Linked DNA regions of Homo sapiens: regions 1, 2, 3, 5, 6 and 7 are each linked to region 4. Evidence: promoter capture Hi-C in 16 types of primary human blood cells and fetal thymus (Javierre and others, 2016). All regions are on one chromosome and are shown on one strand. The core of a region is centred on a gene start or on the middle of the fragment in contact, and the rest is flanking DNA. Distances in the headings are between cores, read along the strand shown.

Region 1 (4,042 bases), core at 1,281-3,780, 300 kb after region 4:
GAAGAGAGTCGCTGGCCGTGGTCGCCGCTAGGGTAAAGACGGGAGGCAGGCCCGGGAAGGGAAGGTGTCGGGGCCGGTGGGGGACGTGTGAGGGAGTGAGCCTTGGTCCGCGCACGCCCGGGAAGCCAGAGGCCAGAACGCGCTAGCCCACCTCCAGCCCGAGCACCGGCGGCTGGCGGGAGCCGTGGCAAGAATGCGGCCCGAGGTGGCGAGCAGCCACTGCGCCAGTGCAGCTCGGGCTCAGCGGGGCCCGGGCCGCGGGTTCGCAGCCCGCCCAGTGGTGCCTGCCGGGTTGGCCGTGCCGGCCGTGCCAGGTGCGCGGGGCCCAGGCCGCCCGGGCGCCCTCTCCCCGCACCCCTCACCTTTGGCCGCGCTCTCGGGCTTGGGGAGTTGCCATATCGAAGACACCCTCAGACCCCAGCTCTATCTGCCGCCTTCTGCAAGTTCGCTGCAAAGTCCCCCATAGCAGGACTAGGAAGGAACCTTTTACAAAATTAAATACTCGAGTGTCGTTTTGTCTTCGGTTTTTCAATTCAACGCTGTGTTTTTCCCTGCTGGGTCTTTGTCAAGTACCTTTTCCCCAAAACTTGATACGGATGTGTAACACGGCGCCTGCTTAGCACGGTGCCTGGCACCCAGTAGGCGCTCAGTAAAGATTTGTTGAACGCATGAGTCACTAAGCTTGGAAAATTCTCCTGAACTGTGCGTCGCTATGATCTTTGTTAAGATTTTATGGGTTCCCAAGATCACTTTGAAAATTACAGTAATTTTAAAGCTCAACAAAGAGTTACATCGGGTCATTTTTGCATTCCCTGTAACAGTGGCCTCTGTTGAATGCCTAAATTAACTCAAAACCCGTGTTCTAGAAGATGCGCCCTTTGGTTTCTACAGAAAGTGTTAATCTTTCAGATCAAAGTCTTCACATGAACCATTCTATTATGGAACAAACTGAAATTACTTATAAAGCTTTATCGTAATTAGCGTTTTGGATACAAGTGTAAGGGACTGCACTGATGTACTTGTGAATACGAAATATAAGTCTCTTAAATATGACTTTTTTTTAAGAAAGGGTTTATATTCATATCTCGTGAAAGAGCATGCCGGAGAAAATTATAATAACAGCAAATCCCCCACCCCCACCCCTTTGCTGGGTGCAGCTGCTGCCTTGACCTCAAAATGTCTTGTAAAATTATCTCTTAATAGTCTGGTGTATCTAAGGCAAAAATCTCTGAGATTAAACCACCCCATAGGGACAACCCTTTTATTACTAACAATTCTTACCAGATTGTGTCTGTTTCTTCTGAGCTTTTCTGAAAAAGAGAAAAAAATAGACAACGTAATGGAGTTTCACATTATTAAGACAAAATCAGTAACAACTTGCTGACATTGAGTGAAAAAAGCAGGATACAAAATCATGATAACCAGAAAATTTGGTTAATCATGACATCCATAACCCTTCTGCTTGTGGGAAGGTCAGCTACAAGTGGCCAGGGTCTTGTCTGCCCTGATTACCAGCGGGTGTCCACAGTGCCTGACCCATGGTAACCACTCATTAAACACTTGTGTAATGATTACTTGGCTGTTAACAGATTAACAGTGTATTGACTATGATGTGTAGTTTCTTCATTTACTTGGATATCTCCTTAGAATAGATCACTCCGGGGAATTTTACTGGGTCAAAAAGTATGAATATTTTCATGGTTATTGAAACATTTGACAACCTGCTTTCCAAATAAACCTTATAGTTTTGTACTGCCATCAGTACATTTGAGTGTACCTTTCAAAGCATAGTTCAAGCTGATACAGTGTTTGCTAATTAGGGGCACTTTGAGATGTAACTCATTTGATTTCATTCACCCTGGAAGGTTGGCAGGGCAGGCATTGCTTTCCTCCTTTTGCAGCACAGCAAACTCCAGTGCTTTAAATTGACGGTAATGAATGGTAGGTGGCTAAATGATCACAGCCTTTCAGGTCCGTCTTCCTCCCAATCTCTACCTTTGGTTCATAGTGAACATCCTGAATAAATTCACCTCTTTCTTTAGCAATAAAATTGGATATTGCTTTATGGTTTTTATGGTTTACAAAATCTTCCCTTTCTCATCCTGCTCACATATTTGTAGATGGGTTCATCAAATTTGGGGAGTTGAAATAATGAAGCACAATTTAGATGAAAGAGATGATGTTGGTTAGATGTAAAGGGATGCTCTGAACCCACAAACTTACAAGATTGCCACCCTTTCTATTAGTAAAGGTCTGGAAACCGTGGATGGTGCTTTTGTATCTCCTTGAATTAATTTCCTAGTCTGTTATTCTGATTCTTTCCCATATTTGCTGGTCAGGGACCCCAAATGATTTAATACGTAATTAATCCAATAAGAAAGGGCTTTGGAAAGTCTCAAAGTTTAGTTGTAATATGTGGAACCATTGAAAATTCTTGGGGTTTATTGTAAGTGACACTGTTTATATCAAAAGTGGGCCAAAAATTGGTTTTCTACATTGCTTTCAAATTTGCTCAGCGTTCTTTAAAAAACAAACAAAAAACAGTATAGAAAAGATAGGGAAGGAGAAATGCAAACATATTGAGGCTTTGGAAATATTCAGGACTTCTTTTTGTTTTCACTCTGCTTCTTGGTTGTGATGTCAGATCACAAATAATGTTCAGTAAAAAATAAATGCTCTTTAAAGATACTTTTCAGGAATGTCTCCTTGTGTCAAGGAGTAGCTGCCTAAATATTGGGTATCAGGGAATAGCTGCCTAAATATTGGATGGGTTTAAGGCAACTGGTTCTTTAAGGAACTTTTATGTGAATCTAAATTATTTTGCTTTTGTTTTTTATAGTAGGATATATCTGCATCTTGAAAGGAAGATAAAACAAAAGCCTTCTTTGGAATAGATGGATTTTTGTCACTTTCTGTGTGAACTAAAGTGATTCAATGTCTCTTTTGGTAAGTTTTTGTAAATATAGATCTGATTTTGTTCTGTCAGAGTAGTTGGATGTTAATGCCAAGCCATAATAAAAGGCATATTCTGATGGGATATTCTTATGCTCTGAGATATTGTTTTGACCTGATTGACTTCTGGACTTGAGAAATGAATTACATTCTCATTGAGTTTTTCTTTCTTTCATAAAGAACTTCTCGTATACTTCAATATGTTCATTATTCTAATCTTTTGTCCCATATCTACTTTTTCTCATAGGTGTTATACTTTGATATGCCACCCACACCAGTTAGCTATGCCTTATCTTTTAAATCTTTCAGAAATTCCTTTTACAAATTTCCATCTGACCAAAAGCAAGCCAAACAGTATTAAAAATAACCCCTTTGACTTAACCGAAATAAAATCATTTGGATCAATGTATATATGAGGTATAGCTGCCAACTGGTTTTCTATTTATATTTAGATCCGTGGTATCTACTTTAGATTAAGTAGCTTGAGGACTTTCATCCTGTTTTATACATAATAATAATATTTGAATAGGGAATACTTATATTAAAATGTGGTTTTTAAAAAAGTAATGAGTAGACCACGTGTAGTGGCTCACACCTGTAATCCCAGCATTTTTAGGGGCCAAGGCTAGAGAATCAGTTGAACCCAGGAGTTCAACACCAGCCTAGGCAACATAGTGAGATCCTGTCTGTATAAAATATTAGCCAGACGTAGTGTCATATGCCTGTAGTCTCAGCTACTCAGAGGGTTAAGGTGGGAGGATCCCTTGAACAAGGGATCAAGGCTGCAGTGAACTGTGATCATGCCATTGCATTCCAGCCTGGGTGATAGAGGGAGATCCTGTCTCAAAAAAAAAAAAGGATGAGTATATTTGTATGATGATTTATAGTTTACAAATACTTTCATATATTTCTTTCATAGTTTCAAATTGTGTAAGTTTAGCAGGGCAGGTGGCATTATCCTCATTTTCAGTTTGTCCAAGATTGCAAAAAGTTGGAGCCAGACTCATACCTGCCAATCTATTCTATCAATTACCAAGGCTGAGAGGCAGAACTATGAAGTTAGAAGACTGGATTGTTAGTAATATGGAAA
Region 2 (3,599 bases), core at 485-2,984, 310 kb before region 4:
TCGATGTCGAGTTCTTCGGCAACTTCTCGTGTAGTTGTAAGAGGATCAGCTTCGATGATTGCTCTCAATTGGTCGTTGTTAACTCCCCATGGCTGGCCACTATGCTCCTCATCTTCAGGGCTCTCATCTCCTTTGCAAAACTTCTTGAACCACTACTGCACTGTATGTTTGTTAGCAGTTCCTGGGCCAAATGCGTTGTCAACATTACAAGTTGTCTCCACTGCTATAACCCATTTTGAACCTGCAAGGTGTGGCAGACAGCCCAGGACAACGAGAGGGACTGCAACATCACGGATGGTGACTACTACGAGGTGGACATCAACAGGCAAGATCCTGGCCTGCAGGTACCATGTGGCTGTGGCATTGCCGAGGCTGGCGAGCTCCAAGAGCAGCTCAGGGCACTGCGCAGCAGGCATGAGGCCCGCGAGACCCAGCACGCTGAGGAGAGGGCCTATACAAGGCCAAAGTCCAGGCGCTCACCGCGGAGGTCTCCCTGCTGGAGAAGGCCAGCTGCCAGCACTGGCCCAGCTGGAGAAGTTGCTGAAAGTGAGCAACATTGCCGGTGAGACGCAGGGCCAGCCTGAGTGTGGCCCAGGATGAGCTGGTGATCTTCAGTGAGGAGCTGGCCAACCTCTACCATCACGTGTGCATGTGAAACAACTGGAGGCCCAGCTCTGTCATGGGGGACTACTACCTGAGGGCCAGGACGGGGCCAGCTGCACCAGCCCCATGGGCAACTCCTCCATCCTCCTACCCAGGGGGCTGCTGGCTACAGAGGCAGGCCAAGCACACAGCAGGACCAGGGACATCAGCCCTTCATGTAGCCCCTTGCTGCCATCACCCCTGGGTGACCCATGCTGGGAGCCCATGAATATCTACCACTTGATTCGTATCATCTGCCACCAGATCAAGCACCTGCAGGCAGCTGTGAACCACATAATGGAGCTGTTGTGGCAGCGCATCGCCTCGCAAGAGCTGGGCCCAACCACGGACAAGTTCAAGGAGGCTCTCGTGAAAAAGATCCTCAAGTTGAAGTCGCTGCTCAGCACCAAGTGGGAGCAGCTCACCACGCTGCACACTGTGCTGCAGGCCAGCCAGCAGGCAGCCAAGGTGGCCCTCTCCAAGCTGAAGGGCAAGTAGGAGAAGAAGAAGACCATGGTTACCAAGACCAGGATGAAGCTCTGCAATGAGCTCCAGGTGCTCGCCTCTGAGGAGGACGTGGCCACCTTCTCCTCACTGTGCACCAGTTTGCCACCAGGTGAAATGAGTACATCACAGCTGGAGGAGACGCAGCAGCAGCTGTCAGCTGCAGAGGATGAGAAGGCACTGAACTCACTGCTGTGCATGGTCATCCTGCAGAAGCTGGCACTGACCCAGTGGCTGGAGCTGCTCAAGCTGGACCACACAGACCTGGTGTGACCCCACCAAAGCTGCCCCCAAGGCCAAGCTGGCCACCCCAAGCTTATGTTATGCCTGCACCTGCGCCAGTGACAGGGCCAAGGGCACTGGGCTGACCAACCAGGTGTTCCACATTATAGGTGTAAGCCACCTTGCCTGGCCCATTCCCCGAGTTTTTAATGGGAGGGAAAAAAAGCTTTAATGTTGGTCAGAGTGATGGCTCATGCCTGTAATCCCAACACTTTGTAAGGCCGAGGCAGGAGGATGGCTTGAGCTCAGGAGTTGGAGACCAGCCTGGGCAACATAGCGAGACTGAGACCGTATCTCTACAAAAAAGTAGCGGGACATGGTGGCATGCACCCGTGGTCCCAGCTTCTTGGGAGGCTGAGGTGGGAGGATCACTTGAGACCTGCAAATCAAGATTGCAGTGAGTCATCAACACGCCACTGCACTCAGCCTGGGCAATAGAGTAAAAAAAAAGCTTTAATGTTGAGCATGTCGAAAGCTGCTGCGTGGAAAGGCCTCTGTACAGGCTGAAGATCCTTCCCTGGCTGCCAGGCTTGCCAAGAGCCCTCTAGAAACACGGGGCTCTCTGTTACACGGGGCTCTTTGTTACAATGTTCTTTTTTTATCTGATCAACATGTGCACTTTTGATATTTTGATACTATATTTGCTTCCTTAATTCCTCATGCACTGACAGTCTCAGATGCTGTGGTCTATGCTCATGGGCCTGTCGCTGCCTGCCCACCTCCCTCTGTGTTGGTCTGGTGTCAGCACTAGGCAGAGCTGTGTGCTCTTAGCATGTAGGTCTAGACTGTGGAGATTAGGGCTTTGACCAGAGAATTCACCAGAGAAGGCATCTAGGCCTGAGTTTTTCTTTGTGCAAAATTTTTGTATTACAAATTCAATTTCTTGTTATAGGTCTATTCAAATTTTCTATGTTTTTATTTTTATTTTTTATTTTACTTATTATTATTATTTTGAGGTGGCGTCTCACTCTGTTGCCCAGGATGGAGTGCAATGGCGCAGTCTTGGCTCACTGCAACCTCCACCTCCCAGGTTCAAGTATTTCTCCTGCCTCAGCCTCCCAAGTAGCTGGGATTACAGACATGCACAATGACACCATTCTAATTTTTGTATTTTTAGTAGAGACTGGCTGGTCTTGAACTCTTGACCTCAGGTGATCCGCCTGCCTCGGCCTCCCAAAGTGCTGGGACTACAGGCGTGAGCCACTGCACCCAGGCTTTTTTTTTTTTTTGTGTGTGAGATGAAGTCTCACTCTGTCACCCAGGCTGGAGTACAGTAGTGCAATCTCGGCTCACTGCAACCCACACCTCCCAGGTTCAAGCAATTCTTGTGTCTCAGCCTCCCGAGTAGCTGGGATTACAGGTGTGTGCCACCACGCCTGACTAATTTGTTGTGTTTTTAGTAGAGATGGGGTTTCGCCATGTTGGCCAGGCTGGTCTCGAATTCCTGACCTCATGTGATCAGCCCACCTCAGCCTCCCAAAAGTGGGATTACGGATGTGAGCCACCATGCCCAGCCAGATTTCTTATTTATTTTTGAATCAATGATTGATGAGAAGCAATTGGCATTGGGTCAGAATTATAAATGAAAAAAAAAATTTTTTTTTTTTTTTGGAGACAGAGTCTCGCTCTGTTGCCCAGGCTGGAGTATAGTGGGATGATCTCGGCTCACTGCAGCCTCCGCCTCCTGGGTTCAAGCTATTCTCATGCCTCAGCCTCCCAAGTAGCTGGGACTATAGGCACCCGCCACCACACCCGGCTAATAGGGTTTCACCATGTTTCCCAGGCTGGTCTTGAACTCCTGAGCTCAGGCATTCCACCCACCTCAGTCTCCCAAAGTGCTAGGATTATAGGTGTGAGCCACCATGCCTGGCCAAAATGAACATATTTTTTGATTCAGCTGTTCCAATCCCAAGAACTTATTTCAGTTATATGTTGCTATATGCTAAAGTTCAGTGGCATAAAACAATAACCATGTTATTATGCTCACAGATTCTGTGGTTCAATAAGGGAAGTAACTCAAATGACAGAGGCTTGGAGTCACTAGCATCTGACTTGAGATGACTTGAAGATCAGGGCTTTCCAAAGGTTACTTACATGTAGTCTTTCTATGTGATAGGCTTCTCATAGCATGGTGACTGGATTCTAAAAGGTAGCCCTCCAACAGGGAGCTG
Region 3 (3,852 bases), core at 196-2,695, 360 kb before region 4:
ACAGGACTGTGCCACCAGGCCTGGCTAATTTTTTAATGTTTTGTACAGACAGGATCTCCCAATATTGCCCAGGCTGGTTTCAAAGTCCTGGCCTCAAGCGAACCTCCCCACTCAGATAACTTGTCAATGTTATCTTCCAGCACTGTCTAATAAACCCATTACAGAGTTATCTGACGCTCTAGGGCTGCCCTGTCTATATGGTAGCCACCAGCCACATGTGGCTATGTACATTTAATTTTTAATAATTTAAATAAAAAATTCAGTTCCCTAGTTTCCTTAGCTACATTTCAAGTACTGTATTCAGTAACCACATGCAGCTACTGGGTACCCTATTAAACAGCACAGAAAAGACCAGTATCCATCACTCCAGAAAGTTATATAGATGGGTTTGCTCTAGGGAAATGTAACTTTATATATCTGCCATTTATTAGGGCCCAGACCACATTAGATCATGTGGCATGTAGAATGACAGCACGCCAAAGACATCCATGTCCTAATCCCTAGAAACTGTGACTATGTAGGTTACATGGCAAAGGGAAATGAATGTTGCAGTTGGAATTAGGTTTGCTAATCAGGTATCCTTAGAATAAAGAGATTATTCTGGCTTATTTCAATAGGCCCTATGTAATCACAAGAATCCTTAAATGTGGCTGGGGGCAGTGGCTTACGCCTGTAATCCCAACACTTTGGGAGGCCGAGGCGGGCGGATCACGAGGTCAGGAGATCGAGACCATCCTGGCTAATGTGGTGAAACCCCGTCTCTACTAAAAATACAAAAAATTAGCCAGGCATGGGGGCGGGTGCCTGTAGTCCCAGCTACTTGGAAGGCTGAGGCAAGAGAATGGCGTGAACCCGGGAGGCGGAGCTTGCAGTGAGCTGAGATTGTGCCACTGCACTCCAGCCTGGGCAACAGAGCGAGACTCCATCTCAAATAAAAAAGAATCCTTAAATGTGGAAAAGGGAGGCAGGAGAGTTGGTGTTAGAGTAGCTGGCTTTAAAGATGTCAGGGGCCCAAGCCAAGGAACGCAGGCAGTCTCTGGAAGCTGGCGAAGGTGATGAAACACATTCTCATCTAGAGTCTCCGAGTAGAATGCAGCCCTGCTGACACCTTGATTTTAGCCCAGTGAGACCCACTTTGGAATTCTGACCTTCAGAACTGTAAGATAATCAATTCGTGTTGTTTTATGCCACCAGGTTTAGGATAATTTGTTGTAGCTGTAATAGGAAATAATACAGGTGTTAACTTGCAAAACATTGATAAATTACAAAGAATTGCTGTATAGTTGAAAAGAAATCCCCCAAGGTTTCAGTTTTATTGCCCTTAGGACATTAACCAGTTTTGTTTTGTTGTTTATTTGGGTTTTTTTCCCCCTAATCTGCAATCTTATTCTGATGTTCTTTCTTCCATATTGGTTTCTCACATCTTCCTTTGAACTTGCTTTATTACACTCGCTCCCTCATTGACTATATCTTTGAAATCTGCTCACTACATATTGTATAGGAGTCACTATATATTGTACAGCTTTAAGGTCACAAGTGGTTTTTGGTTCCATGAGTGAATCGTATAGTGGTGAAGTCTGAAACTTTAGTGTACCCATCACCCAAACAGTGTACATTGTACCTAATAGGTAGTTTTTCATCCATCACCCCTCTCCCACACTCCCTCCTTGGTTTATATGCTTAAAGTTAGATGCTGACATGCAACCAACAAAGGAAAAACAAACAAACACAGGACTCTAAGGTTCTTCCGTATGTAAGAAGAGCCTACATAATTTATACAGCGATTAACCTGATGAAATAGTTTATTTACAATTTAAATGAATAAATTTCATATTCTACAACACATATAATCTATTGACTAAATGTAACTAATGATGAACCTCCATACAAACAACCCCACTAAAAAGTGGGCAAAGGACATAAACAGACACTTTTCAAAAGACATACAAGTGGCCAAAAAGCATATGAAAAACAGCTCAATATCACTGATTAGAGAAATGCAAATCGAAACCACAATGAGATACCATCTCACACCAGTCAGAATAGCTATTATTAAAAACTCAAAAAATAACAGCTGCTGGCAAGGTTGCAGAAAAAAGGGAATGCTTACACACTCTTGGTGGGAGTGTAAATTAGTTCAACCATTGTGGAAAGCAGAGTGGCGATTCCTCAAAGAGCTAAAAACAGAACTACCATTTGACCCAGCAATCCCATTACATTCCCAAAGGAATATAAATCATTCTACCATAAAGATACATGCACACAAATATTCACTGCAGCACTATTCACAATAGCAAAGACATGGAATCAACCTAATACCTGATATGGTCTGGCTTTGTGTCCCCACCCACATCTCATCTCAAATTGTAATCCCCACGTGTTGGAAGAGGGGCCTGGTGGGAGGTAATTGGATCATGGGGTAGATTTCCCTCTTGCTGTTCTGTTGATAGTGAATTCTCATGAGATCTGGTTGTTTGAAAGTGTGTAGCACCTCCCCCTTTGTGCTATCTCTCTCCTGCTGCCATGTAAGATGTGCCTTGCTTCCCCTTTGCCTTCTGCCATGATTGTAAATTTCCTGTGGCCTCCTAGCCATGCTTCCTATACAGCCTACAGCACTGTAAGTTAATTAAACCTCTTTTCTTCATAAATTACCCAATCTCAGGTAGTTCTTTATAGTAGTATGAGAACAGACTAATACAATTCCCATCAATGAGAAACTGAATAAGAAACTGTGGTATATATACACCATGGAATACTATGCAGCAATAAAAAAAGAACAAGATCATGTCTTTTGCAGGAACATGAAGGGAGATGGAGGCCATTATCCTTAGCAAACTAATGCAGGAAGAGAAAACCAAATACTGCATGTTCTCACTTATAAGTGGGAGCTAAATGATGAGAACTCATGGACACAAATAGGGGAACAATAGACACTGGGGCCTACTTGAGGGTGGAGGATTGGAAAAGGGAGAGAATCAGAAAAAATAACTATTAGGTACTAGGCGTAGCGCCTGGATGACAAAATAACCTGTACAACAAAGCCCTATGATATGAGTTTACCTATATAACAAACCTGCACATGGACCCCCTCAACCTAAAATAAAAGTTGAAAAACATACAAACAACAAAGACCACAAAATAAAAAGTGTTGGCCAGGACATGGAGAAATTGGAACACTTGTGTACTGCTGATGGGAATGTAAAATGGTACAGCTGCAGTGGAAAACAGTATGGTAGTTCCTCAAAAATCAAAAATTAGATTGCCCAATGATTCAGCAACTCCATTTCTTTTTTCTTTTTCTTTTCTTTTTTTTTTTTTTTTTTTTTGCCCCAGGATGAAGTCTTATTCTGTGGCCCAGGCTGGAGTGCAATGGCACAATCTTGGCTCACTGCAACCTCAACCTCCCAGGTTCAAGCAATTCTCCTACCTCAGCCTCCCAAGTAGCTGGGATTACAGGCACATGCCACCATGCCTGGCTAATTTTTGTATTTTTAGTAAAAACAGGATTTCATCATGTTGGCCAGGCTGGTCTCAAACTCCTAACCTCTTGATCTGCCTGCCTCAGCCCCCGAAAGTGCTGGGATTACAGGCATGAGCCACCATGCCTGGCCGGCAATTCCACTTCTTTTATGTTTATAGCAAAAGAATGGAAAGCAAGGTCTCAATAAGATATTTATATACCCATGTTCACAGTAGCATTTTTCACAATAGCTAAAACGTGGAAGCAACCCAAGTGTCCATCAATGAAGGAATGGATAAGGAAAATGTGGTATATATTATACAAATAATAGCCTTCCAAAGGAAGGAAATTCTGACACAAGCTACAACATAGATGAACCTTGAGGAACCTTG
Region 4 (3,687 bases), core at 982-3,481:
GCCAAGAGGAAGTATTTTTTTTTTCTATCCTGCTCTTTCTGAAAAGCTTGAACATTTTTCTGTACTTTCCTTTTCTTTTTTGAGACAGGGTCTTGCTCTATCACCCAGAATGGAGCACAGGGGTACAATCATGGCTCACTGCAGCCTTCACCTCCCGGGCTCAAGCAATCCTCTCACCTCACCCTCCCAAGTAGCTGGAACTACACACAGGCGCCACCACATCCATCTAATTTTTAAAATATTCTGTAGAGACAGGGTCTCACTATGTTGCCCAGGCTGGTCTCAAACTTCTGGGCTGAAGCAATCCTCCCACTTCAGCCTCCTGAGTGGCTGGGACTACAGGCACATGCTATCATGTCTGGCTAACTTTGTTTTTTATAGAGACAGGGTCTTTTGCTGTATTTCCCAGGGCGGTCTTGAACTCCTGGCTTCAAGTGATCTTCCTGCCTTGGCCTCCCAAAGCACTGGGATTATGGCCATGAGCCACCACGTAATCTTTGTTTTATGCGTATTTATAAGCTTTGCTTCCCCAACAAGATTATAAGCTCTTTGATTGAAGTACATCATATATTTGATATGTATTCTCTTGTCCAAGTGTTTCTGTAGGCAATAAGGGGAACTTTGTAAAACAAGAGTTTTCCGGTCAAGTAAATTTGAGAAGCGCTGCCTAATCTCTTCCCCCTCAGAGATTTGCAATGCATATTGACCTATTAAAGGCTCTGAGAATTCTTCCTGCGAAGAAACCTATTTTAGCCTTGTCCACCTTGCATTTCCCAAACACGTTTGACCTCAGAACTCCCTTTTTCACTAAGAATGTTTTGCCCATCTTATGTTTTACCCATGTGCTCTATAGCAGTTAACACTGGGCTTATTAAAGGTACTCAATATGTGATTGTAAATTAACTGGTGAAGCATTCCCTCATTCTTGTTTATTTTATACATTTATTTAATGAAGCCCTTTTCATAGAAATTGTCAAGATAAATGTATCCTCATTTAGATCAAAACAAATTCTAAATTAATGAAGTCATGACATTTTACTGTATTTTGGTTTTTTTGGTTTATCTGTGAAGTCCTCAAACCTGTGAGTAGTGCTGACCCTAGCCTTGAATGAACAGCCCTGTACTAACTGCAAGGCCAGAAGAACCCCTGCCCTTCCCCTCCCCACCCCCCCACATCATTTCCAGAAGTTCTAAAGAACAGTTGAAATTTACGGAGATCAGACTGGGTTGAGTGTGGGATTTCCAGGGTGGGTTCTAGAAGGAGAAGTGGGTCTTCTGTAGTTTGTTGAAATTTTATTTTCCAAACCCAGCCCCCAAGTTTTTCTTCCTCTATTTATGTGCAAGGACAAAACAGTTACTGTCCTACCTACATAGGATATGGACTCTGTCTGCTCTGAGCCCATTTTAGTTTAGAATATAGAGACCTCCCTCCAGGTCCTAAGAGAGAGATTCCATGAGAGATGTGCAACACCATAAGGTTGGTGATTTGTACTTTGAAATGGCTGCCTTTATTTCCTTTAAAGTCAATATCTTATATTTGAATAAACACAGTTTGCAAAGCATCTTTACAGAAATCTCATTGGATCCTCACGGTCACCTTTTTTCTGAGACAGAGTCTCACTCTTTCACCCAGGCTGGAGTGCAGTGGAGCGATCTTGGCTCCTCCACTTCCTGGGCTCGAGTGATCCTCCTTCCTTAGCCTCCCAAGTAGCTGGGACCACAGATGCGTGCCACCATGCCCAGCCAATTTTTGTATTTTTGGTAGAGATGGGGTTTCGCCATGTTGCCCAGGCTGGTCTCAAACTCTGCAGCTCAAGCAATCCACCCGCCTTGGCCTCCCAAAGTGCTGGGATTACAGGTATGAGCCACTGTACCCTGCCCTCACAGTCACCTTTTGAAGAACCTCCTGCTCAAGAGATCCTCCTGCCTCAGCCTCCTGAGTAGCTGTGATGACTACAGGCTTGTACTACCATGCCTGGCTAGTTTTTTTATTTTTTGTAGAGACGGGGTTCCCTGTGATGCCCAGGGTGGTCTCAAACTCCTGAGCTCAAGCCATCCTCCCACCTCAGCCTCCCAAAGTGCTGGGATTGTAGGTGTGAGCCACTGCACCTGGCCAAGCATTAGTTTTAATCTTGTTTTATAGATGAATAAACTGGGGCTGACTCAAACTGACTCAAAGTCACACTGTCATTACCTTTTTGATCCTGTACGTTAGACTGGGCTGTATGCATGTTCTTGCTGGCGCAATAAAGTTGCAAGTGCCAGCTAACAGCCCTTCCCACTCCACCTCACCACCTCATAGAGGAAAATTGTGACGTTAATGGGAAATGTCAGCGGTAATGTCTTCAGGCTGGGCCTGTGGAGTGACTCCCTTGCCACAGGATATTTAAGCAATGCTGTGTCTTGTCTGAGGCTCAGACCTGCTATTCTTATTGGCACTTGGGACCTGCATGGTTTTTGGCTTCACCTCCAGCTTTAGCCATTTTTCTTCTGTTCTTTTAGGTAAGGATTTTCTGCCCCAGACCTCAGATTCCCATTTCCTTCCTAGCTTCTCTGCTGTTATAGCTCAGTCTCTTCCAAGACCATGCAAGATTCAGACCCTAGTAGGAGGAGATGGAGGAACTAGGACTTAAACCCACATCTTGTGATTCCAAGGCTGGTTCCTCTTTTGCCCTGCACCACACAGCTGTCTGCTCACAGTCATGTGACAGGGGCTTCCCCAGCCAGAACCTCCAGGGAGCACAAATAAAGGAAAGAGCTGGAAGGCACAGTACAGCATTTGTTCTGTCCAAGCCTTACATATCAGCATGGGCAGGGAGAATGTGGTGAAGTTTTCTTTCAAGGACTTTGTTTGATAAGGAAGGACATTTATCAGTGAAGAGAGGTTTTGAGGGAAGTGAACCAATCTTGAGATAAGTACACAAAAGAGCTTTGAGTCTGGTGTTTCCCTGTTTGCTTCTGCCCCCTGGAGGAGCAAATACTCCATGATTAGAGACGTGTGAGTCCTTTGGAATAGAATAGCAGTGATGGAACTGGAGTCCTAGTCCAGGTTCTCTCCTTGTTCAGCCTGGATTCAGCACTGGGTATCGAAACAAGCCTGCACCCTCAGAGGAGATGGCTAGGGGACAGTGCGTCCAGGCCTCTTCTACCACACAGAGTTTTCTTTTTTTTATAAAGGGTATACACATTTAAAATTTAATGATACTCCCAAATTGCTCTTCAAAAAGGCTGTGCAAAATTACAGTCCTGATAACAGCTACCCAGAGATCCTGTAACGGCATTTGCCCTCATCATTATTATTATTATTATTATTATTATTATTATTATTTGAATTTGAGACGGAGTTCTGCTCTGTTGCCCAGGCTGGAGTGCAGTGGCGCAATCTTGGCTCACTGCAACCTCTGCCTCCCGGGTTCAAGCAATTCTCCTGTCTCAGCCTCCCTAGTAGCTGGGATTACAGGTGAGCACCACCACGCCTGGCTAATTTTTGTATTTTTAGTAGAGACGGGGTTTCACCATATTGGCCAGACTGGTCTCGAACTCCTGACCTCAGGTGATCTGCCCGTCTCGGCCTCCCAAAGTGCTAGGATTACAGATGTGAGCCACTGGGGCTGGTTGCCCTCACTATTTAATGGGTTATTTGCAACCTGTGAATCATGTCTCCTATTTCCTTGTTAATGATGCTTA
Region 5 (3,808 bases), core at 304-2,803, 450 kb before region 4:
CTATGAAAGAGTGGAATGTGATGTTAGAGGAGCAGGTAATAGGGTGACCCAAACTTATCGGACAGTTATGGAAGGCTTCTCTCAGCTGAGATGAAAGGAAGGGGGAGTTACCAGGTAAGGAGGGTGGAACTGCACACACACTGTGCAGGAGACTGGAGGCAGTGCCTGTTGCTGGAGCAGAGAGCAGGGGAGATGGTGGGAGAGGAGCTACCCAGCACCTGATGAGGAAAATCTCTCTTGATCCTTAGAGCAGAGCGCAAAGCATGGCTGTAATGGTTCTGATTGCTTTTCAGGGATTCTGAATCATGTTTACTCTCTTTTCCTCACTTTTCTATATTTACAAGGTAGTCTACAATGAAGATGTGTTATTTAATAATTTAAAAAGGGGTCTTTTATGAAAGAGAGTGGTGGCATTATATGCCTACTCTGGCCTTTCCGACTTACCCTCTTCTTTCCCAGGTTTACAGAATAGTAATGAAGGTGTCTCACTTTCAGAGCTGACCCTGGCCTCAGCCTGGCCTAGGTGAGGGACATCCTGGCTGATGTGGTCCCCAAGTCCCAGAGAACACACAGACACATCATGCTCTCTTGAAGCATCTGAGAACCCTGGCTGGACAATAGATCAGGAACGTGGCAGTAGGTTTTCTGCACCAATTATCTGGGTGTGGGTAGTTTAGTGAGGAAAGGTTGTATCATTCATGATTTCTACCACTTTCTGCTGTATCCATTGGTGTTTTTCACATGATTGAAATATTAGATTGCCTAATTTCAGACCCTTGTGGATAAGCCACTTAAATGCCCAAGTTTTCAGAATAGGGAGCCAGAGAGGAGGTGCTGCCTTCCTGGTCCACCCACCCATGACCTGGTTCATATCTGCAATTGTCTGTTGAGAATCTATCCAGTCCAGAAATGTCTATCTTTAACAGCTCCCTAAGGGGTTCTTTAACTTGTTACTTACAGAGATAACTGATGGGTTCATTGAGAACAATTGACCTGATAACAAATATGAATGAGAACCACACAATTAACTCAACCTTTCAGTGTAATTCTGTATTATTCCAATTATGATATATGATATATAGCTGTAAAATATTGACTACAAATATACATGTAATTATCAACTATAAATAACAGCAGCAGCATTATCCTTGCTAACCCTCAATGCCTCTGTATGAAAGAATCACTGGATTGTTTCTATGGTCCGGTCTGCACCCTCCTCTTTGATTACTGTGGCTTGGTGTTTCTGCTGGCCTCTTCTGGATCCTGTGACATGCACATTCTAGGCTGCCTGATTACAACAGTTCTATCTTTATAGGAGGGAGGGCCTTTAACCAGCTAGGTTCATCTCAGTCATTCTAGCTGCAATTTGTTACTCAAAGTAAATTCTTCAATGATGAAATCCCCATCAATGGCCTTTTCCAGGAGGCAGCTTCCCCAGATCAAAGGTTGTCAGGGTATGTTGCCCACAAGCCATCTCTCCTCTGCCCCCTCTTACATCTGAATCTCTCGGTATATTGTCACCTCTGTGCTCCTTGAATCTGCATTGCAGCCATGGGTAGGTTTTAGTGGTGATATCTTGGCTGGGAGATCAACTTTTCCCACCCTGCAGATGTCGCTGTCTCTGGGATGCTGCCTAGTCTCCTCTTTCAAACCCTCTCTGGCTCAGCTCCTGCCTCCCCCTCCACATCTCACCCCAAACAGCCCTTGCTCCCTTTCTTCTCAGATATACTCTACTAACCCCACCCACCCACCACCAGCTGCAAGCACCTGGGGTTACTCTCCTTAACTATTTCCTATTATCAAGCAAGCTAGACATGCAGAGTTGGAAAATAAATTCTTCATATGTAAATCACTGGAGTCCTCTCCTAATCAGAAATTAGAAGTGGGTGGCATGGAAGTGATTTTCACGATTTGTCTTCACACTTCTGTTTCGCCAATAAATAAAGGGATTAGTGATTCCTCTAAAACATTTTAAGATTTGCAAGAAAATCTCTCATTTATGCTGGCACTTTTTATTCTAATTGCTGAGACTGAAAAGAAATGTCATTCTCTATTTAATTCAGTGTTCATAATAAAAGCCCTGAGGTTGCTGATTAATTTTTATTTTCATCCTTAGGAAGTCAACTGTTAGCAGAATTTCAACTTCTGATCTCATTCCTGCTTTGGGTGTAGGCAATTGCGTACTCAACCTTGCTTCAAAACGTGAGCTACTGAATTCCCTCAGAAGTGCTGATGTCAGTTTTATAAGTGTATTGAATGCAGAATTGTGGAATAATATGAACCTGTTATTTAAATCATTGGTTACCATACTAACTTTTCATTTTGCTGTGGATAGAACTGGAAGCACAGACATTGTCAGGATAGTGGATGAATATGACACACTTTAAGTGATCAGGAAGCATGTGTGAAACCATCTCAATCTGTCTTTCTTCTTATCTAGTCACTATCAAGAGACAAAGCACTTGTAATTGATTAATGTTATAAAGCAAGACTAGAATGTAATGAAGCATAGAGTTTTATTTTAGAGGCAGTTTTATTTTAACAGCTTTATGGCTTCCTTTTTGTCTCGGACTTGTTTGCTTAGGTTCTAAAGAGATCATTTACATTTTTAAAAATTTATACTTTGGTACTTTGAAGGAAAAAGCATACTTTTTTCTACCCTCACACACCACTCATCCCAGAACACTTCTGATGTCAGATGTGTGTGGGATTTTTCCTCACACACCAAGCAGTTCTCCAGTGGACACCAAGTTAATTTAACTCAATTCTGACACTCCCTACCTGGAGACAGTGTCAGGCCCCACAGGTTGAGGGCTCAGTCATACAAGGCTGCCCTCCTTTTCAGATGCCAATCACAAATCCAGGCCTCTGCAACTTCTGACCTATAGGATAGAAATTGGGGGCTCCCATGACCAAACCATAACCAAACATTAGGTTTGGTTAATGTTCTAGAGTGACTCGCAGATCTCAGGGAAACACTTTACCTACAGTTACCCATTTATTATGCAGGATATTACAAAGGATACAGGTTAACAGCCAGATGGAAAAGATGTATAGAGGAAGGGATGTGGGAAGGGGTGTGGGGCTTCCATGCCCTCCCTGGGCACGCCACCCTGCAGGAACCTCCATGCATTCAGCTATCCAGACACTCATCTGAACCTTGACCTTCTGGGTTTTTATGGAAGCTTAATTTCATAGGCATGATTGATTACATCATTGGTCTTTAGTGAGCCACTCAACTTTCAGCCTCTCTCCTCTCTGCATCAGGGGGTGGGCTAAAAGTTCCAACTCTCTAACTGCAAGGTTGATTCCCTTGGCAACCAGCCCCCATTCTCAGGCTAACCAGGAGCCCACCAACCACCACCTCATTAGGATAGAAGATGCTGTCACCCAGAAAATTCCAAGGGATTAGGAGCTCTGTGTCAGATGTACCTGTCACTGAGGAAATTACAAAGGTCTTAGGAGCTCTGTGTCAGGCCTGGAGATCAAAGACCAAATGTTAAAACCAAAGATTCTTCTAGTGCCCCTACCTACCAGGGTTTTAGGAGCTCAAGAACTGAGGTCAGGGACCACTATATGTATTTTTTATTATCTCGCAATTTCATAAGTAGCTTTTATGGGGAAATGTATAACTACAGTGAAATCCACTGAAGGGGATTCATGAGAATCACAAGATACCCTTCATAGTGCCAAGGGCCCATTGAATAATACAGACCTTGTCAGGTACATTGATTTGAAAGGAAAGTTCTAGTAGGACCAGGCTGAGGAAGTGACTCTACATGGTGAAACAAAAGACAGAACAGAACAC
Region 6 (3,956 bases), core at 964-3,463, 330 kb before region 4:
AGTATATTAAAACTCCCTTAATGCAATGAGTTTTCTTTCCAGCTGAAGTCCTGAGCGAGGAGCCCATTTTGAAGTGGTATAAAGATGCACATGTTGCAAAGGGGAAGAGTGTTTTCCTTGAGCAAATGAAAAAGTTTGTAGAATGGCTCAAAAATGCTGAAGAAGGTAAGGATTTTCCTTTGTGTGGTTTGTTTGGTAAAGCTAATTTTAATGTGGCCATAATATATCTTCACACATGCTTCCTTCTTTCTGATGCCATTTTGTACCTGGAGTAGAGATTTTTGTTATAAGGCAGGTGGCGAAAGCTAGAGTTTAATTATTATAGTATATTTATGGCTCAGCCATAATAGTAAATGTTCTTCATGAAATGGAAAATTTTGAGAATATTTAATGTTTATAAATTTGTGGATTTCTTTTCTTTTTTTTTTTAATTAAAAATATAGAGACAGAGTCTCACTATGTTGCCGATGCTGGTCTTGAACTCCTGGGCTCAAACAACCTTCCTGCCTCAGCCTCACAAAGTACAGGGATTGCAGATGTGATTGCACCCAGCCAAATGTTGGGATTTCCAAGTGAATGCTTTTGAATATCTGCCTCATGTAAATAGGTTATTAATAAAATTCGTTAACAGCTTCAAAGTTACATGGAGGCTGGGTGTGGTGGCTCACGCCTGTAATCCTAGCACTTTGGGAGGCTGAGGCGATCAGGTCATTTGAGGCCAGGAGTATGAGGCCAGCCTGGACAACATGGGAAACCCAGTCTCTACTAAAAATAAAAAATTAGCCAGTTTTGGTGGTGGGCGCCTGTAGTTCCAGCTACTTGGGAAACTGAAGTGGGAGGATCACTTGAACCCGGGAGGCAGAGGTTGCAGTGAGCCAAGAGGGTGCTGCTGCATTCCGGCCTGTGGGACAGAGGGAGACTCTGTCTTAAAGAAGCTTCAAAGTTATAAATGGGAACTTTTGCCTTCTGATACATAATGTTTGACTGTTTTTTTCCCCTTTTCTAGAATCTGAATCTGAAGCTGAAGAAGGTGACTGAATTTTGAAACTACACCCTCAGTAAAGCAAACAGGAGTTGTAGATAAAATGTCATGTCTCATGTGTCCTGGTTCTTACATCTTCCTACCTCCCTGTATCAAGCATGATATAAGGGCTTTCATGGCAAATTTTATTTTAACTGTTTCTATGGTTGCTGGAAATGTTGGGTTTAGTTTCTAAAACCATGTTTTAAGTAGCTACAGGAGCTATAGATTTGAATCTAATGTTGCATTAGTCTTTTCAGTTATCTTCTACCTCCTGTATTTTCTACTGTAATAATGTAATTTAAGGCCTTCCACAATGAACAGTTCACTTTATTCCCTGGGTTTTCTATAAACAGTTTTAAGGATATGATTTGGTTAAAAAATAATTTGTTATAAAAATTCTGTTTGCAAATTAAACTGGAAAAGTATCCAGAGTCTCAAAAGGCAATGATTTGTGAGATAATATGGCATGCCCGGAGCCCTGCTCATCAATGAAAAACCCATATGTAATAATCGAATTCATTTAACATGAATCTTGAGTACGTGGACCATTGCTTGCATGTTAACTTTTTGTTTTGTTTTGTTTTGTTTTGTTTTGCATTTTTAACTCCAGATATCCTAAAGCTCAATTGTTTGGTCTCTGGTTTTCATCCTTAGAGAAGCCATGGAGAACAGACTTGAAAAGTTTAGGAAATCATAATGTGGCAGAGGTGGTGGGAAGAAGAAAGTTGAGCTTTTTCCCCTTGAGAAACTTCTGCATTTAGTTTCTATCTTTCCAGGCAAAACAAATGGGTATTCTTTTCATACAACCATTTTCAAATGAACCTTAGAAAAGTCTTAACATTTAAGGTATTTTATGCACAGAATACACTTAGATTGATAGGAAAGAACTCGTAATGGAGTTTGAGTAAAGAAAATGACTGATGTACTAAACCCAGTAAAAATTGTTGAAAATGTTAAAGGTCAGCATGTTCTAATTGGGAATCTAGATATAGCTTAGATTTCCTATTGGCTTAGAGTATTTGCTATAACAAATGAAGTGCAATGACAATTATATATTCCTACTCGGTCATACTGGACTGGCTTCGTTCTCTTAATATACTCAGTAATGACTCAAGCCTCTGGCTATTAACATACCCTAGTTGCCGTTTTTTAATTGCCATGAGCCAAATACTTCTTGGTATACAATTGATCCATTTATTTTAATGGCTGCCTTTTCATTTTCATCTTTTCTTGCTGCTACCCATCTATGTATGTAGTCATTGGGGGGAAAATGTAGCCACATTTTTTATGGGAAGACTTTGTGTTAAAAGTGAACATTTTGAAGGTTTTTAACTGGTGAAACTAGCCTGGAATAATGCCACCAGAGACTGAGTGGAAATCGCCCCTTTTGAAGGTGCCATTCTTATGAGCCAAAAGTTTGTCATTTAAAAGTTCATTTTGAGGGAATAACATGTAATATAATTTGAAATAAAGGTATAGTAACCTTAAAAAGAACATTATAACTGATTGTTGTGAATGGGGTGAATTTGTTAAAATGAGTAACTTTGATAAAGTTTTTCATGCACAGGCAAAATGTATTCACTAGATTTCTACGTAGTGATCTGCTTTTACTTTGTAATTTGTAGTTCTCAAAAGACTTTTTTTTAAAAAAATAAAGTCCATACTTACACTTAGGCTTTATACATCAGTCTTTTTTTTTTTAAATTCCATGTTAATACCTAGTGGTATTGTATGTTGTGTGTTCAGATGTCTTTACTGTATCTGTATACCATTAAGTAATAATTAGACTCCCAAACTGTAAACCACCTACACAGAATTCTGGTGTAGCTAAAACTACATTAATATTTCTACAACCAATTCATTGCATGTTTCTTCCATACAAAGTGTGCCATTTTATACTGTGTATAGTGAAAAAGTGTGTCATCTTCCAGAACTACATTATTATCTTTGATCGTAGTTTGTTTCTTCATAATGACACTGTAGTGTTTACTTAGTAGAACATTATAGTAAGTGGATATCACTTGTGACAGTAATAGTGTAAAGAAAGGGAATGCTTTATAAAAAGATTGCAGATTCCATTCCATATAAAAAGATTCCATTCTGAATCTTAAGTGGTAATTTTAGAATTCAGGTGCCAGTGCCAGCCTATGGCCTCAAGTATGTAATTCTTAATATAGATGTTAAATTGTACTTTTAATTATGATTGGATAAATGTTTTTTCTAACTGTCAGTTTCTAAGGCTGTCTCCTTAGAAACTAAATGAGTTTTTAGAGCTGGTTGTAAGTTTCTTAGCCTTACTCTGTGAGTTATAGATGTTATTTCATTCTATATATAGATGTTTATTCCATTCTTATTTAAAAAAAAAAACCTCCATATACCAAAAATGCTACAGGATATTTTGAAATAGCATATTTTAGTTAGGGGAAATGCATGTGACCAAGAGGTTGGACTTCTAATTCAGTTTTTCAAAAGCTTTTTTCCATTATCATACCCCCAGCCTTTTTAGGCTTTTTTTTTTTTTTTTTTGAGACGGAGTCTCGCTCTGTCACCAGGCTGGAGTGCAGTGGCGCGATCTTGGCTCACTGCAAGTTCCGCCTCCCGGGTTCACGCCATTCTCCTGCCTCAGCCTCCCGAGTAGCTGGGACTACAGGCGCCCGCCACCATGCCCGACTAATTTTTTTGTATTTTTAGTAGAGACGAGGTTTCACCGGATTAGCGAGGATGGTCTCAATCTCCTGACCTTGTGATCCACCCGCCTCAGCCTCCCAAAGTGCTGGGATTATGGGCTTGAGCCACCGCGCCCAGCTAGACTTTTTTCTAATAGAGTCCCCCATAAATTTTATTACCATAGATACGCTGTGTATGTACTGTTTCTGTGCTTTGTACATGAAAAGAGTAAAATGTTTTTGTTTTTGTTTTGGAGACAGTCTCA
Region 7 (3,821 bases), core at 448-2,947, 290 kb before region 4:
AGCAGCAGCTTCCCAATAAGATCTCAGGAGTTGGGCAAGTGGGGAGAAGTAATGCAAGACCTTGGAAGTATGCCAGTGTATAAAACGCCAAGTCAAAAGCTCAAGCCACACATTTATCTTTCAAGTCGCCCGCTTGGTCCTCTTCCAAGCGTACTTCCCTTTCTTTCATTCCTCCTCTAAAGCTTTTTAATAAACTTTCACTCTTGCTCTAAAACGTGCCTCACCCTCTCCTTCTGCCCCTCAGTCGAATTCTTTCTTCTGAGGAGGCAAGAATTGAGGTTGCTGCAGACCTGTACGGATACAGATTCGCTGCTAGTAAAAAGCACCTCAGTTTAGTGGAAGATATAAATGGTGACAAGAGGATAGCTGTAAGCTAACTCCAAACTAGTCAAGAAAGAATCAAAACATTAATTAGACCAGCCATTGGAAGAAATGAGACAAACCAAGAACTGATGCCAAGACAAACATTTTGAGACGGAGTTTTGCTCTTGTCACCCAGGCTGGAGTCCAACGGCACGATCTCAGCTCACCGCAACCGCCGCCTCCCGGGGTTCAAACAATTCTCCTGCCTCAGCCTCCCGAGTAGCTGGGATTATAGGCATGTGCCACCACGCCCAGCTAATTTTGTATTTTTAATAGAGACAGGTTTTCTGTATGTTGGTCAGGCTGGTCTCGAACTCCCAACCTCAGGTGATCTGCCCGCCTTGGCCTCCCAAAGGGCTGGAATTACAGGCATGAGCCACTACGCTCGGCTGGTATAAGTTTTAGGAACACCCAAATCCAACCACTGTGATCTAGGCAGTGGGCAGAATATGGTCTTGATGAAATCAGTGGTAGAACCCAATGAATGGCTTGATGAGGTGAGAGCCCTGTGGTGGACATGAATGTTAGGACAGCAGCTTCTACTTACTTACTACATGCCAGAAGCTTTACACACATTTAACCCTCACAATTGTCTTCTGAGGTATTATTTATGGATGAGAATACTAAAGCTTGAAGATGTTAACTTGCTTAAAGTTACACTGTAAGGGACACAGCTGTGATTCAAACACAGACCAGAACTCCACAAACTGGTGCCTTTAACTAGTTCATTGCATTTTTCAAATGGATATTCTGTAAAGCTCCACTCTTCAATATTTTCAGAGATATGCCTTATGTTCTCACTTGTAATATAACCAAGTATCCTAGCCTTGAAATGCATTTTAAAGTTTTTTTTTTCCTTTTTTTTTTGAGACAGAAGTCTCTGTTTCCACGCTGGAGTGCAGTGGTGCAATCTCGGCTCACTGCGACCTCTGCCTCCCAGGTTCAAGCAATTCTCCTGCCTCAGCCTCTCAAGTAGCTGGGACTACAGGCGCGTGCCACCACGGCCAGCTAATTTTTGTATTTTTAGTAGAGACGGGGTTTCACCATGTTGGCCAGGATGGTCTCGATCTCTTGACCTCATGATCCGCCTGCCTCAGCCTCCCAAAGTGCTGGGATTACAGGCGTGAGCCACCGTGCCTGGCCCTTTCTTTCTTAATTTCAGAATGTAGTCTTGTTAAAACCGTTTCCCTCCCTTTCCCGCCTCACACTCCCTTATACTATGCACATTTATCTAACTGTACACTTGTTAAACTTACACTATACACTCTTATCTATAGGGTCTTAACTCTCTTGCCCAGGCTGGAGTCCAGTGGCACGACCATGGATCACTGCAGTCTCTACTTCCCTAGCTCAAGCAATCCTCCCACCTCAGCCTTTTAAGTAGCTGGGGCTACCACATCCGGCTTTTTTTTTTTTTTTTTTTTTTTTTCAATTTTTAGTAGATTCAAGGTCTCACTACGTTGCCCAGGCCGATCTAAAACTCCTGGGCTCAGGTGATCCTCCCACCTTGGCCTCCCCAAAGTGCTGCGATTATAGGTGTGAGCCACTGTGCCTGGCCCATCAAGGGCTAATCATGACATATACCAGGCTTGGAGACCCAGCTGCAAAATTCCAGAGATTACCTTAAGGTGGTTAGTCAACAACCCAGCCATTGTTGAGATGATGCCAGCCCCCACTCCAGGTGGACCACAACTCAAGATAGCCACTACAGCAAGCCACAGAGATCTGAAACCCTGCACCACTCCCGCATGCCTCCCATTCTAAGTTCCCTTTTTAAGCACCTCTCCCCAGCCTAAAGTTCAAAATGATTTCTTTAAGGTACTAGCTTTGGCCATTTCCCCACTGCTAGCTCTGGAATAAAGTCACTTTCCTTTTCCTGCATCTCCTCCTTGTTGTTGACTTTGCAAGTGGCGTGCAGCCCAGCCTGCATTCAGTTACAATAAATGGGAGCTAAATCTTGGATTCACATGGACAAAAAGATGGGAACAGTGGACACTGGGGACTCCAAAAAAGGAGGAAGGGGCAGGGGCAAGGGCTGAAAAGCTTCCTTTTGGGCACTATGTTCACTGTCTGGGTGACAGGATCAGTAGAAGCCCAAACCTCAGCACCATGCATTATACACTTGTAACAAACCTGCACATGTACCTGCTGAATCTAAAATTAAAAAAAAAAAAGATATGCCTTAAAAAATGTCCATGAGCAGGCCGGGTGTGGTGGCTCACGCCTGTAATCCCAGCACTTTGGGCGGCCAAGGTGGACGGATCACCTGAGGTCAGGAGCTCACGACCAGCCTGGCCAACATGGTGAAACCCTGTCTCTACTAAAAACACAAAAAAACAATAGCTAGGCATGGTGGCAGATGCCTGTAATCCCAGCTACTCGGGAGGCTGAGGCAGGAGAATCACTTGAGCCCGGGAGGCGGAGGTTGCAGTGAGACGAGATTGTGCCATTGCACTCCAGCCTGAGTGACAAGAGTGAGACTATGTCTCAAAAAAAAAAAAAAAAGTCCATGAGCAAATCAGTTGGGAAATGTTGAGTGTTTACTGTATTCCAAGACATCTTTTTTTTTTTTTTTTTTTTGAGATGGAGTCTCCCACTGTCACCCAGGCTGGAGTGCAATGGCTCGATCTTGGCTCACTACAACCTCTGCCTCCCGGGTTCAAGTGATTCTCCTGCCTCAGCCTCCCAAGTAGCTGGGACTACAGGCACCCGCCACCATGCCCAGCTAATTTTTTATATTTTTAGTAGAGACAGGGTTTCACCATGTTAGCCAGGATGGTCTTGATCTCCTGATCTCGTGATCTGCCCATCTTGGCCTCCCAAAGTGCTGGGATTATAGGCGTCAGCCACCACACTCGGCCTCCAGGACCTCTGAGAGCCTTTACTGTAAACCTAAAGATCACACCTGTAATCCCAGCACTTTGGGAGGCCGAGGTGGGCAGATCATGAGGTCAAAAGATCAAGACCATCCTGGCCAACATGGTCTCTGTAAACCCCGTCTCTACTGAAAAAAAAAATACAAAAAGTAGCTGGGCATGGTGGTGTGCACCTGTAGTCCCAGCTACTTGGGAGGCTGAGGCAGGAGAATCACTTGAACCTGGGAGGCAGGGGTTGCAGTGACCCGCTGCACTCCAGCCCGGGTAAAAGAGCAAGACTCCGTCTCAAAAAGAAAAAAAAAAAAATCAGAGAAAATAGCAAATGGATTGGCTGGCCTTTCCAGACTAACTTTTTATCCTGTCCCTCCTCTTTCTAACTGTATAAAGTGAATAATTAATGGTAGAGCTCTTACCGTTAGTATCAGTTTCAGGAATACCCAAATTTTCAGATTTGGGGATACTTGCATATACATAATAAGATATCTTGGAGATGAGACCCAAATTTAAACATGAAGTTCATTTACGTTTCATATATACCTTATACACATAGCCTGAAGGTAATTTTACACAATATTTTAATTA

The links. Contacts are between HindIII fragments. The CHiCAGO score rates a contact against its expected background, and 5 or more counts as called.
Region 1: a fragment that was not itself captured here is called in contact with the fragment with the promoter of CFLAR-AS1 in region 4 in 1 of 17 cell types (neutrophils); the score reaches 5.7 in neutrophils.
Region 2: a contact is called between a fragment that was not itself captured here and the fragment with the promoter of CFLAR-AS1 in region 4, in 1 of 17 cell types (neutrophils). The highest score is 8.6, in neutrophils.
Region 3: a contact is called between a fragment that was not itself captured here and the fragment with the promoter of CFLAR-AS1 in region 4, in 1 of 17 cell types (neutrophils). The highest score is 6.3, in neutrophils.
Region 5: a contact is called between a fragment that was not itself captured here and the fragment with the promoter of CFLAR-AS1 in region 4, in 2 of 17 cell types (non-activated CD4 T cells and naive CD8 T cells). The highest score is 6.1, in non-activated CD4 T cells.
Region 6: a fragment that was not itself captured here is called in contact with the fragment with the promoter of CFLAR-AS1 in region 4 in 1 of 17 cell types (neutrophils); the score reaches 7.9 in neutrophils.
Region 7: a contact is called between a fragment that was not itself captured here and the fragment with the promoter of CFLAR-AS1 in region 4, in 8 of 17 cell types (neutrophils, monocytes, non-activated CD4 T cells and 5 more). The highest score is 13.0, in neutrophils.

Annotation. Positions count from the first base shown.
Region 1 is chr2:201,451,907-201,455,948 of GRCh38, forward strand. It overlaps STRADB (STE20 related adaptor beta), which reads left to right. Exons shown (of 12, transcript NM_018571.6): 1 at 1-32; 2 at 2,840-2,946. The coding sequence starts at 2,935. Among named protein-coding and RNA genes, the nearest start is that of STRADB, 2.2 kb to the left of the region's middle. RefSeq lists a silencer at 1-404. The HindIII fragment of the contact is 3,133 bases long and covers 965-4,042 here.
Region 2 is chr2:200,844,000-200,847,598 of GRCh38, forward strand. It overlaps the pseudogene BICD1P1. Among named protein-coding and RNA genes, the nearest start is that of CLK1, 19 kb to the right of the region's middle. The HindIII fragment of the contact is 285 bases long and covers 1,593-1,877 here.
Region 3 is chr2:200,799,129-200,802,980 of GRCh38, forward strand. All of the region lies in intron 1 of BZW1-AS1 (BZW1 antisense RNA 1), which reads right to left. Among named protein-coding and RNA genes, the nearest start is that of BZW1, 11 kb to the right of the region's middle. The HindIII fragment of the contact is 5,757 bases long and covers 1-3,852 here.
Region 4 is chr2:201,155,561-201,159,247 of GRCh38, forward strand. It overlaps CFLAR-AS1 (CFLAR antisense RNA 1), which reads right to left and starts at 2,232. Exons shown (of 7, transcript NR_040030.1): 1 at 2,195-2,232. All of the region lies in intron 8 of CFLAR (CASP8 and FADD like apoptosis regulator), which reads left to right. RefSeq lists enhancers at 2,531-2,610, 2,631-2,960. The HindIII fragment of the contact is 4,248 bases long and covers 518-3,687 here.
Region 5 is chr2:200,704,218-200,708,025 of GRCh38, forward strand. It overlaps the pseudogene AOX3P-AOX2P and the pseudogene AOX3P. Among named protein-coding and RNA genes, the nearest start is that of LINC01792, 29 kb to the right of the region's middle. The HindIII fragment of the contact is 3,259 bases long and covers 1-3,183 here.
Region 6 is chr2:200,821,141-200,825,096 of GRCh38, forward strand. BZW1 (basic leucine zipper and W2 domains 1) reads left to right here. Exons shown (of 12, transcript NM_001207067.2): 11 at 43-165; 12 at 1,007-3,956. The coding sequence ends at 1,038. Among named protein-coding and RNA genes, the nearest start is that of BZW1-AS1, 11 kb to the left of the region's middle. The HindIII fragment of the contact is 2,561 bases long and covers 934-3,494 here.
Region 7 is chr2:200,867,170-200,870,990 of GRCh38, forward strand. It overlaps PPIL3 (peptidylprolyl isomerase like 3), which reads right to left. Exons shown (of 7, transcript NM_130906.3): 7 at 3,738-3,821. Among named protein-coding and RNA genes, the nearest start is that of CLK1, 4.4 kb to the left of the region's middle. The HindIII fragment of the contact is 1,414 bases long and covers 991-2,404 here.